Linked DNA regions of Homo sapiens: region 2 is linked to region 1. Evidence: promoter capture Hi-C in 16 types of primary human blood cells and fetal thymus (Javierre and others, 2016). All regions are on one chromosome and are shown on one strand. Each heading gives the region's core, a stretch centred on a gene start or on the middle of the fragment in contact. The rest is flanking DNA. Distances are from core to core; before and after follow the strand shown. Region 1 holds the start of ICE1 (interactor of little elongation complex ELL subunit 1). Region 2 has its middle 14 kb from the start of ADAMTS16-DT.

Region 1 (5,818 bases), core at 3,319-5,818:
TACTGTAATCAATGAGCGTAACAAAACAGATATGAAGTGATTTGTGAGACTACGAGCAAAAGACACAGAAAATGTAGTCAATCTGCACACTTCTGAATCAAATAATGATCTCTGCAAAGGTACTGTTATCTCTTCAACAACTAAAGAAAAAAAGGACAGGGAGGATTAAGAAATGAAAGGAAGATTTTCAGTGCAAGCAAACCACTATTCAAGACAGAGAGGCAAGTTAGCCTAACATTACAGTTCAGAATGAAGTCACAACACCAATATGGTTGCCTACCATTGGAAAGACTGACTCCTATGTTACACTTGTAAATTCTCTGCATGATCAAAAAGTTAAAACTATAGCACAGAATATCTTCTCTCTGTACCTCTTTAGTTTCTCTCTCACACGAAAGTTTAATTGAAATATGGAACTTCACGTAGTTATAATACATGCGAAAATTATTTCCAAAAAGCGGTTATCTACTAATTGACCAAAAGAATTGCTTTTCCTTAATTCTCATTCTTTCCGATCTTGGTTCCCTCTGGAACTCTTGATTCCCTCTGGAACGCACTCCCTGTTTAACCCTCTAACATACTTTATCTGTTTCTCCTTTCCTCACCATTCCATGTTCCCCTTCATCAAAGGCCACACATCAGCTAGTTGGTTTTCCGTCACTGACTCTAATGATAGCATGTAATCCCATGAATTGGCCTCATGGTTTCAAAGATTCCTTTAAGTGACAGAACATAATGCCCCATTTTCCTATCCTCACACCTCCCTTCTGTCAAATAAGCTTTTTTTTTTTTTTTTTGAGACGGAGTCTTGCTCTGTCACCCAGGCTGGAGTGCAGTGGTGGCACCATCTCGGCTCACTGCAACCTCGGCCTCCCAGGTTCAAGCAATTCTCCTGCCTCAGCCTCCTGAGTAGCTGGGATTACAGGCGCATGCCACCATGCCCGGCTAATTTTTGTATTTTTCGTAGAGACGGGGTTTCACCATCTTGGCCAAGCTGTTCTTGAACTCCTGACCTCGTGATCCACTGCCTTGGCCTCCCAAAGTGTTGGGATTACAGGCATGAGCCACCGCTCCCAGCCCAGATAAAATTCTTACACTGAACACAGTGCACATCTAACCTGGCCTGCTATTTCCTTGAGGGATATTAGGGCACCTTGGAAGCACTGTGTTCCACAAACATTAAATCTGAAAATGGCTGAACACTCCTAGTTCTGATGTCATTCCAACTTCAGTCCCTTCCACCTTGATTTCCTCTTCCTCCTGTATCTACCACAGTTCTCATGGTCATTTGAGTTTTAAACCTCGGGACCTTCCATTTCCTGACATGAGACCTGCCCATTCTTTACACTGTCTCATATTCAGAACCTTTTTCTTCTTTATTCCCCTTCCCAGGAACCTTCAATTACTTCAGACTTTTGTTATCACTATTATGTATTAGTAAAATAATTTACCATACCTAGTTGCACCCCCCTTCAATCCATCCTGCATACCACCGTTACTTCTACTACAAGCACTGTCCTAACGTAACTATGCAAAAACCTTCACCATCCCATAACACTGACAGAAATAAGTACAAGAATTTATGATGGTTACCATTCAAGGTTCTCTATAAACTGCCAGGAACCTATTTTTCTAGACTCACTTTGCACAACTACAGAATTCCTCCAGAGACTCTACTCGTAACTTTCCCCTAAAAAGGTAATCCAATTCCAGGCCACAGAAAATCCAAATGCAATAGTGTCCTGACCTAGAGAAGAACTCTGTAAACTAAGGCCCTACTCCAGTGTTTATAATGTTTCAATGGAACACAGGCATACTCATTTCTTTGTGAATTGTCTACAGCTGCTTTCACATGAAAATGGCAGAGCTGAGCAGTTCTGAGCAAGTCCCCAAAGCCTAAATACTTGTGATCTTGCTCCTTACAGAAAAAGTTTGCAGACCTCTGGATCTAGGATTACTCTTATTGATGTTTTGAGAACCCACAGCAGGAAATGTGGCAAGGGTAGAAGGAAGGAGATTCAATTTCTAGGCCATACATTAGAGTAGTTCACACCACGGTGGAAGCAGTGGAGATGTTGAAAAGTGGGTGAATAATGAAGGCAGAGCGGACACAATCTGATAAACTGGATACAGGTTATGAGAAAAAAAGAGCTGCACCAAGGATGCCATCTAGTTTCTGGCCTAAGCAACCAGAAGAATACAGTTGCTAAATTTAACCATAACAGATCCATGACTGAAAAGCACAGTTCACATCAGTAGTTCTTCTGCACAAAAGCCTCCAATGACTCACCATTTCCATCGCCCAAACCCCAACAATGGTCTACAGGAGCCCACACAATCAGGCCCTCCTCCTACCTTCCTGACTCCCAGCATTCACTCCGCTCCAGCTTCACTGGCCTTCTTGCTCTTCCCAAGCACACCAAGCCAGCTCCTGCTACAGTTCTTCACATCTGATGTTTCCACTGTATGGGAGACTTTTCTTCCAAGATTTCTACAGAGCTTATTATTCTCTCACCTTTGCTCCAATATAAACGTTCCAGGACTCCCTACTTAAATTCCAACAGCCACTGGCCTAGTCCTCACCCATTCATTCCCTCCCCATCTCTGTTCAATTCATCAACAACGTTTTCATTACCCTCTAACATAACTCATTTGTTTCATTTATCCTGCCACCCTCCTAGAACGGAAGCTCCAAGAGATCAAGAATTTTTGTCTTTTTCTCCCCTAATGCCATAATTGCAGTGTCTAAAATACGGCAGGTGATCAATAAATGTTTGTTGAGTGAATTGGCTCGAATAATAAATACAATGTATTAAAGATTCGGGAGAACTCCAATCACGTTCCTGGGGTGGTGGTGGCGGGGGCGGGGGGGCGTTATAAGATACCTACACAATGCAGCTCAGTGAAGGCAATGATCTGTTAGTTCTCCTTCTACTCACAAAAGCAGCACATTTCCTTCCTCCCCTTCCTTCAACACTTAAAATGTTTGCAATCAGTTCACAGATATTGCACTTAAAATGCAAACCAAGTTTCTCGGCATGGCCTACCTAGCCTGCACTCCCGTCTGGTCTCATCAACCATCTTCCGTGTGCACTATGCTCATGCCAACCATACCATGTTCTGCTCATCAAAGACACCCTGCTCCTTCTCACCAAAGGAACCTTTCCACCTGTTAATCCCTCTATCCAGGAAGCTCTTCCCACATCTCTTCTGACAGCCCGATCCTTCCCATTATTCAAATATCTGAAAGTTACTGACTCAAAAATTCCCTACCTGACTACTCTAGCTAAGAGACAAGACCAATATTCCAACATCCTCCTTTATTTTCTAACACCTAAAATCTTCTGAGGCCTTATTCACACATATGCATCTTACTTATGAGAGATCCTATTTTGTTCACCACAATGTCTGTAGTTCCTAGAACACTAGGCAGAGTAGGTAATGAGGTGCTGGTGAGTTCCGTTTTATCACTGAAACCGCGATAGTAGGAAGTTAAAAGAGACCCCCGACATCAGGCAGCTAGGAGAGTCGTGGGAAATGAGGGGCACTATTGCCCAAGTACCACCCCATAAGATCTGGAGCCATACTCTAGCAATTCTCCCTTATGTCACTCTAAAGAAGAGCCCACGCCGCTGTTAGAAACCTCCAGTCTCTGCATGCCTTTCATAAACTACTTTTATCAAACAACTGACAAGCTACTTGACCAATTACTTGGCTTGCTTTTTAAAAAATTAGCCTCGGGATGGCACATCTGCTATAAGCTGAAACGCCTCCCTAGACTCTTCGAGTCTAAGACTCAGACAACCCACATGTCACGTAAGATTCTGCCTCCAAACAACAAATACTCAGGATGGGCCAGAAGACCAAAGCGTTATCCTCAGGGAGATAACTGCCCTCGGCGTTTCACCTGTCCCTCACTGACCTACGGAGTCTGCCCTAGGGAGCTCCGAGGCCGGGTAGGGAAGGTGGGGGGCCCTCCAAACCTCGCTTACTCCACCCCCACCGTTACACCAGCGCATTCCAGTCAATGAACTCTGGGTTTCAAGCTTAAATAAAGCAAAGAAAGCCGTCCCCAAAACTCATGTAGGAAAAAGAGAGCAGAGAGACGAGCGAGCAAGAGCTACGGTTGGGAAGGGAGAGCAGCGCACTGAGGCACAGCCCGCGCGGCCGGACCCCACATCCCTGCGCTCCCGGCCGGCCGAGCCGAGTCCCCCCCCGCGCCCGGGGCCCCGGGAGGTGCTGCACCTGCTGCAGAGAGGCGCAGCCCTGACATCGCGACAGGTCCGCCGCCGTCCCGGGCGCCGCCGAATGGGTCTCGCCCGGCATCATGGTGCCGCCGCCGGGCCCGGTGGGCACGCACGCCTCAGGGGCCCGCGGCGTCGGCCCCGTCCTGTCTCTGCTGATGCCGCCGGGGCCGCCGCCTGCCAGGCCGCTTCCCGCCAGGTCCGGGCGGGTCCATCCGTGCACAGAGGTCCCCGTGGGGCTAGCAAAAGGCTCTCCGAGCCAGAGCTGCCTCAGGCACTAAAAAGAAACGCTACCCGGCGCGGCCCCCGAGCGCGACGCAGTCCAGTCAGGGCCCCGCCCCGCCCTGGCTCGCCCCGCCCCGCCCTGGCTCGCCCCGCCCCTCCCCTGGGCGCGGGGCTGCCTAAGGCGCTGCCTGAGCAACACCGGGAGAGGAGCTGTGCTATGCGGCGGGGGAGACGCCCACAGAGGAGCAGCCAATAGGAGTAGAAGGATCGAAGGTGCATTCCTACCACTGTTAAGGGTCGATCCTTTATTGCCACCTTGCTGTACGACAGGCTTTCCATAGACACCTAAAGGCCTCCGCTATGTGGGCGGTGACCCGCCCGTGACGTAAGCTCCAGACGCCTGAGAAGTGGAAGGACCCGGCGTCCAGGACAGGAAAGTGCGTGATTTACAGCTAGAGGGATAGGCGCTGTCCCGGAGCCCGTCCTGGGCCAGGGAGCAGGAGAGGGAGGGACTACAGTTCCCGACGCGCTGCGGGGCGGGCGGAGATCGTGCGCTTCGGCGCCAGTTGCACGGCCTTAGCAGCCAGTGGCGGCTCCCCTGCTCCTGTAACAGTCCCCTTGTCTTCTGACCTTTCGCTCCTCGGTCATGTGTCCTCGCCGGTCGCCGCGGCAGCCAGTGATGCCCGAGCGGCGGGTTCCCAGGCCCAGGTGTGGGCGCCACCGCCCACCATGCGCCAAGCCCAGAGCCTGGTTGAATCGTTCGCCACCTTGTCTACCCATTTTGGCCATTATCCTGCCACCTCCAAATCCTGTTTTTGACACTTCTCGGGAGAGAGAGAAAACGGAAAGATAAAGGAATAAACTCCTCGTGGTCGTAGTTAGTGGGTAAATTCAGATCTCGTTTGAACCGAGGTTTTTCTTATCTCCAGCCACCGTATCCACCACCACCAGAATCGTCTTTTTAGTCATCACAGCTGGTCGCCGTCAGTACCTTGTTCAGAAGCCTCTCGCAGCTTCCATCGTGTGGTTATACAATCCAAATTCCTTATAAAGTCCAAATTCAAGAGGAGGAATGCACGTTTAGTTAAGTTAATGTCTAGACCTTACCAGCCAATTTCTAGCTCCTCAGTATGGAAATTGCAACTGAAAACACCCCTTCCAAAAAAAGCAGTCTGCATTTTTCTCTGAGTTTTCTTCTCCAAATTTCGCACCCCTGACCTTGCTTACACACTCTGGATACCACCTGCTGTGGAGTGGCGGAAGCAGACATCCAGCGATAGCTAAGTTTCCTGTCGTTGACACCCAAGCAAGACAGGCGTGTACCTAACTGAGGACCTGCCGGTGATAGA
Region 2 (5,993 bases), core at 3,242-5,741, 300 kb after region 1:
AATATCCCATTTTTCTCAATTACTTGTATAATAATTCACTTCTTATCACCACTCATTTAAAAATTTAACTTTGTTTAATAATAAGTATTTGGAGTATTTTTGGCTTTCTACTGTCAGTAAAACACTGTTTTAATTGTTATTAATATATTTTATTTTTTATTATGATAGATTTTTAACACCGGCTGACTTGTATTCTCTTACTACTCTTTTTCAACAATTTTCTGTCTATTCTTTTTTGTTTATTCTTTCAACATTATTTTAGGTTTATTTATATCAAGTTTTAAAATCCCATTGGGATTCTGATTGGGATCACATACATTTATGAATTAATTTAGATAATATCAAAATTATTAAAATATTCAATATTATGAGACAAGTAATACTTTTTTCATGTATTCCTATTTTAAAAATACTTCTAAACATAATACGTGTATTTTTGTTCACACAGGTATTTAACATTTCTTATACTGTTTATTCCTAGGATATTCATATTTTTATTGAATTCAATTGGCTCATTGTATCTCATTTTCTAACCAGAATGTTAAAATAATGAAAGGAAGCCAGCCAGGTGCACTGCATCAGAGCACAGGCTCTGAAACCAGATGTCCCGGGTCTAGGGCATAAATCCTGGCTTGCTCACTTAGTCAGTATGGACACATCACTCAGCCGCTCCAAGCCTCAGTGTCCTCATCAGTAAAATGGAGACAATGATAATGACAATAATAGCACTTACTTCATAACTGCTATGAGGATTAAATGAGTGAATATTTAAATAATCTTAAAACGGTCTTTTAAGATTTAAAAAATCTTAAAACAGTCCTTGAAACTTATTAGTGCTATATATGCAGGGTTTTATTTTAAATAAAATAAATAACTTATAGAAATGGTACAGGTATTTTATTTTCCAGTTTCCTCTGTTTTTACGAGGTCTACTAAACTTTTAATTCATTTGCTTGCTTTTTCCAAAAAGATGAAATTACATTATCTCAAATAATTGTCTATTTTTTTTTTCTGGTATTTACACCTTAGTTTTTCCCCTACTTTAGCTCATGGACAGAGTTTCCAGAGACAGCGAAATACTGGTGATCAGGAGCACAGCTGTCTTATTCCTAACTGTAGTGGGAATGGCTCTTGCATTCTGTTCCTAAGGATGGTATTAGCCCTTGTTTTCCAGTAGATTTGTTTTATGATGCTAAAAAGAGTTCTTTTCTAGTTTGCTAAGAAGTACTAGTGGTAAGGAATATTGAATGTTTAACATAATCTCTCTGGATTAGTTTTCTTCTTTAACAAACCCAAATCTCCATCATGATTCTCATTCCGGAGATTAAGAAAATATGAGAAGGCGGGGATTTTTTTATACCTTTTAAGTAATTCTAATGTATCCCTCTGATATGGGTTGGGGGAGTGGATGTGTCTCCTTTTTCAATTTCTAAAAGTTTTAATTCTTCTTTGCCCCATTAATTAATGTAATTACCTAACTTAAAAAAATTGAACAATGCTATTCATGAATTTATCCTGCTTTATTTTGGTATGTTTAAACTATATTGATTAATATATAAAACTAAAATTTAAATTGAAAGTGTACTGATTAATTCAAATTTAGAGTATTTTGTTGAGTATGTTTATATAAATAATAATAAGAAATATTTGTCAATTGTGTATTGGGGGGTGTCTGTGTGTTGTCCCTAGACATACTGTAGTGTAAGACCTAAAAAGGGTCACTATTATATGCTGTCTTGACATCTGGTAAAATTGACAACCTTCCTTTTCACTGGGATGAAGCAGTGTCTGCTTATTCCTGAGTAGAAGATTTCAGTCTTCTGCCATCTCGTGGAATCGTTCAAACAGGCCAATCACACCCTCCCATGGGAACAGGGGCACCTCATCCTCTTGATACTACAAAGTCTTCTCCACAGCCCTTGTTGTTCAGTCTGTTCCAAGTGCAGCCCCACGTGACCTTCCATGGAGTGCAGCGTCCTCCTCCCCAGGCTGTGGGTGTAGGTGACTAATAAACGTTCCCCTCTGCCCAGCACCATGTGTCATGCACTTGGCCCTCCCCATAACCTTAGGGCAGGAATTCCTCCCTCACCAATGGGGCAAAAAAGAAGCAATTAAAACACGTTTGCCTCCCTTTTTACGTTTTGTTTTTGGTGCTTTAGCCACTTGTAAAATTAACTGGACATTTTCCCAAATGATTTCTGTGTTCTGGAACATTTTAAACAAGTGAAAATTATCTGCTTCTTCATGATTTGACAAAACACTTGTACAATTATTAGAGTCTGATTTATTTTTTGGAGGAAATTTTTTGCCTAACTATTCAATGTGTTTTATTGTTAATGGCCTGTTGTGCCTTCCTCCATCATCTTAAGAGCTTGTTTGGAGGTTTTAGCAGGGGAGCATAATTACTCACGTAGGTTTGACTGAAGACCAGTCCTCTTCTACTGGGGTTGGCTGTCCTCTTGGACTGAGTGTGCAGCTTTGGGAGAGATGCACATGGAGCAGTGAGGGATGAAGGGGACATCTAGCTAGCCAGCCAGATCAGCCCAATCCACCCTGGTGACACATGTTGCAGCCAGATTGCCTTCACTTCCTCTCCGTCTTCTTGAAGCAGTTTTTCAGTTTATGTTCTCCTATAAGAGAGTTCCTTTCATTGAGATCTTCAATCAGTTTAGAATAGTTTCTTACTTTTTTATTAGTCTCTCATTAATCATGTTTAATTATGAATAATTATCTACTTATTGAGAATCCACCATGGAGGTTCCTTCCCCATTAAGCTTATTACTCAGTGGGAAAGACAACATTGAACAGTTAGTTTCAATGTTTCACTGATCACATATTTTGAAGAAATACAGAGGGCTGTGTGAATGGTTACTGTGCCTTATAATTTTATTTTTGCACTTTATATTTTATTAAGAATATATTTATTAATTGGGCTCTTTTCCAAACACGTTGCAAATTCATGATAATATATTTAATGTAAATACATAAATATATGTGTCTTTCCTATCTACATTTATAAATATTTTCATCCACAGTTTTTTGGTTTTTTTTTCTGCAGAAAGGGTCTTCCTCTGTTGTGCAGGCTGGAGTGCAGTGGCACAATCAGCTCACTGTAGCCTCAAACTCCTGGGCTCAAGCAATCCTCTTCCCTCAGCCTCCCAAGTAGCTAGGACGGGAGATGCATGCCACCATGCTCAACTGATTTTTCAATTTTCTGTAGAGATGGGGCCTTGCCTTGTTGCCCAGGCTGGTTGCAAATTTCTAGCCTCAAGCAGCCCTGCCGCTTTGGACTCTCAAAACACTGAGATTATAGGCGCAAGCCACTGCACCAGGCCTACCCCCAGTTTTGATCAGTAAAGTCTTCATTCTTGTCCATGTGTCCTCCATTGTGAAGTTAATTTTCCCCAATTTAATGTTTGTTAAATTGGGGTTTCATCTTAAAACCTAAATGTATATTTAACATAACAGTGTGTTTTATCACACCTCCTCTCTATCCTCCTCCATCCTCATCCCCAATCCCTGCAAAGAAAACCCCTGTCACTGGATGTTGGAGCCACATCAATGACATTGTAGAGTACAGGTATCTGGCATCTGCTTGAGTCCTGATTCTGTTCTTTGTAATTCGGAAGCCCATTACGTATGTTGTTGAGCATCCTTTGCTTTGTATATAAATTATCTCCTGGCATTAATTTGATCTTTCTCTTCTTTTGTTTCCTATATTACTTAACTTGCATTAAAGTATATTTTTTGATTTTTCTGAGTGTCGATTCCTTTTTAATTTGCTCCACTGTGTTTATACAGTTTGCTTCTGCATATTTAGTTTTCACGACAAAAAAAGTCTCTAAAAAGTCTCTATTAACTGAGTAAATCATTATATGTTTTTCACCTTCACTTTTAGCTCATATTTTTTAGAACTTCATGCTCTTGTATCAACAATTTAGATATTTAGCCCAGAACACGTCAACCACTGTACCTCACAGAGTGGAGGCCAACGTGGAGTGAGGAGTTCCCAAGGCAGAGGAGGGAAAATCTTGAACTGAAGTCAAACTATCATGGGTGAGGAACACTTGGGACAAATAGTGCATGTTTGACAATTTATATCTGCTCCTTACATTACCAAAAACATCAACTTGGAACAGAAATTGTAAACCACAGCTTTTTTTTCTCTCAGACATGTCATGTTGTGATCTGACACGTACTTTTGCAGAGGAGAAATCTGGAAGCAAGTTCGGATTTGTTATTTTATTGGTAACCCCTTTTGCTCTTCCGACTGGATCCTCATAGGATTTTCATGTGTCTCTGACCTTGTGTTTTTCAAGATGTGTCTGGCTGTGCATTTTGCCATTCATTTTGCCTGGAACAACATGAACTTTTTTGAGCCCTACACTCAGTTTTGCTTTGTTTTCCAGCTTTAGAAAGATCTGTATACTTATGTGCTCATTATTGAGGACGTATAATATTAAATGAGTAGTGTCTAGCATTAAAAAAGATAAGCTGAGAGTTTATACAACTGTTGAAACCATAAAATGACAAAGACAATTACTCTAAAAACTATATATGCATATGTATCTTTAGCTAAATGAGGTTAATAAAAATGGTACGCTTCATATTGTTCACAATAATTTCAAGGATCAGAAAGGGAAGAAGTGGCGGAAAAGTGAAGTGAAATTCTATGAAATTCTGTCTTCCAGATGAGGGAATACTGTTTTATTCATAACTGAAAATCAGAAATAAACTAAAATCCTTTTGAAAAGTCAAAAGAAATATATTGTTGATAAAAAAGAGCAGAATATATTATAGAAGTAAATAGACATTGGCTACTTAGAAAAAAAGCCAACTGTAGCAATAGAAAAATTAAAATTAGAAGGCATAAGATGAATAGAATATCCAAAAAAACTTAATCTGTTATACGCAATAGCTTAAATTTGTTTATTACAAAACAATGTCTTAGATTTTGTAAAGAATTGAAATTAACAATATACTCTTAAAATACACACATACTGCAAATGAAAACTGAAATATAAAATTAAATTAATTGTTCCACTAATATTAAATTAATTTAAAATATTTTTTCAGGTAAGTACATAGCAGGGAGAACAGGATATGAGCATGGATGCATTTCTTGAGCTTCAAAAGTCTTCATGTTTCCATCTGTGTAGTGGGCATGATAAAAATACAATCCAACTCAGAAGGCTGTTATGAGAATAGAATAGATTAATATTTGTAAAGAACTTAGAACAATACCTGGAACATAGGAACTGCAATGTAAGTTTAGTAAAACTTTAATATAAATGAAATTTAATACATTTAAATGAAAAATAATACAAATTATTAAAAAATAAAACAAATGGGAAAAAATAGCTGGCAGTATCCGATCAGTAAAGACCAAATTCAAAATCAACATGAACATTTTCTTTGCTCTAAATGTTGCTTCCAAATCTGGTTGATTTACATGGGAAATAGTTCCAGTGATCCTTCCAGGATAAAGATTGCAGCTCTTGAACAGAATTTAGCATTCCTGCATCCCAAAGACCACAAACTGCACAGCAAATCTGTTGTGACAAATCTGATTCATTTTTCCCATATCGTATCTCATTTGTAAGTACCTTGAACGAATGGGAAAACTTCCCATCAGATTCACAAAAATTATAGGAGAAGACAACCCAGTCTTAATCTTTGCAAAAGCATATGGGAAAAGTCTGGATTATTTTCAGAGATAATGAATATCATCCATGATGTTGCAAATACCACAGTTTATGATGTTCTTCATGCCCTGGGACAGATTCAAGTGGAAAACTTTGATATGTACAGCTAATTAGCATCAAGACGCCATTGTGAAGTGATTTTAGTTCAGCTGTCCCATTCTATCTTCGAGAGATGAAAAAATTCAAGTTTCCAAATTATGAAATTCCAACTTGGTAAGCATACGATTTAATTTTATGGAGTAAGACCAGCGTACTTATAATAACAGTATTGTTTCTTTTATGAACAAA

Evidence for each region. The method cuts DNA at HindIII sites, captures the fragments that hold promoters and counts their contacts. A CHiCAGO score of 5 or more calls a contact.
Region 2: a fragment that was not itself captured here is called in contact with the fragment with the promoter of ICE1 in region 1 in 1 of 17 cell types (M2 macrophages); the score reaches 6.3 in M2 macrophages.

What each region holds. Positions count from the first base shown.
Region 1 is chr5:5,421,427-5,427,244 of GRCh38, reverse strand. ICE1 (interactor of little elongation complex ELL subunit 1) reads right to left here and starts at 4,568. Exons shown (of 19, transcript NM_015325.3): 1 at 4,246-4,568. The coding sequence starts at 4,329. It overlaps LOC101929200 (a long non-coding RNA gene), which reads left to right and starts at 5,116. Exons shown (of 6, transcript XR_001742583.3): 1 at 5,116-5,818. RefSeq lists silencers at 4,136-4,275, 4,336-4,665 and enhancers at 4,696-4,945, 4,811-5,321, 5,322-5,818. The HindIII fragment of the contact is 2,607 bases long and covers 4,049-5,818 here.
Region 2 is chr5:5,122,644-5,128,636 of GRCh38, reverse strand. It overlaps the pseudogene RN7SKP73. Among named protein-coding and RNA genes, the nearest start is that of ADAMTS16-DT, 14 kb to the left of the region's middle. The HindIII fragment of the contact is 3,429 bases long and covers 2,777-5,993 here.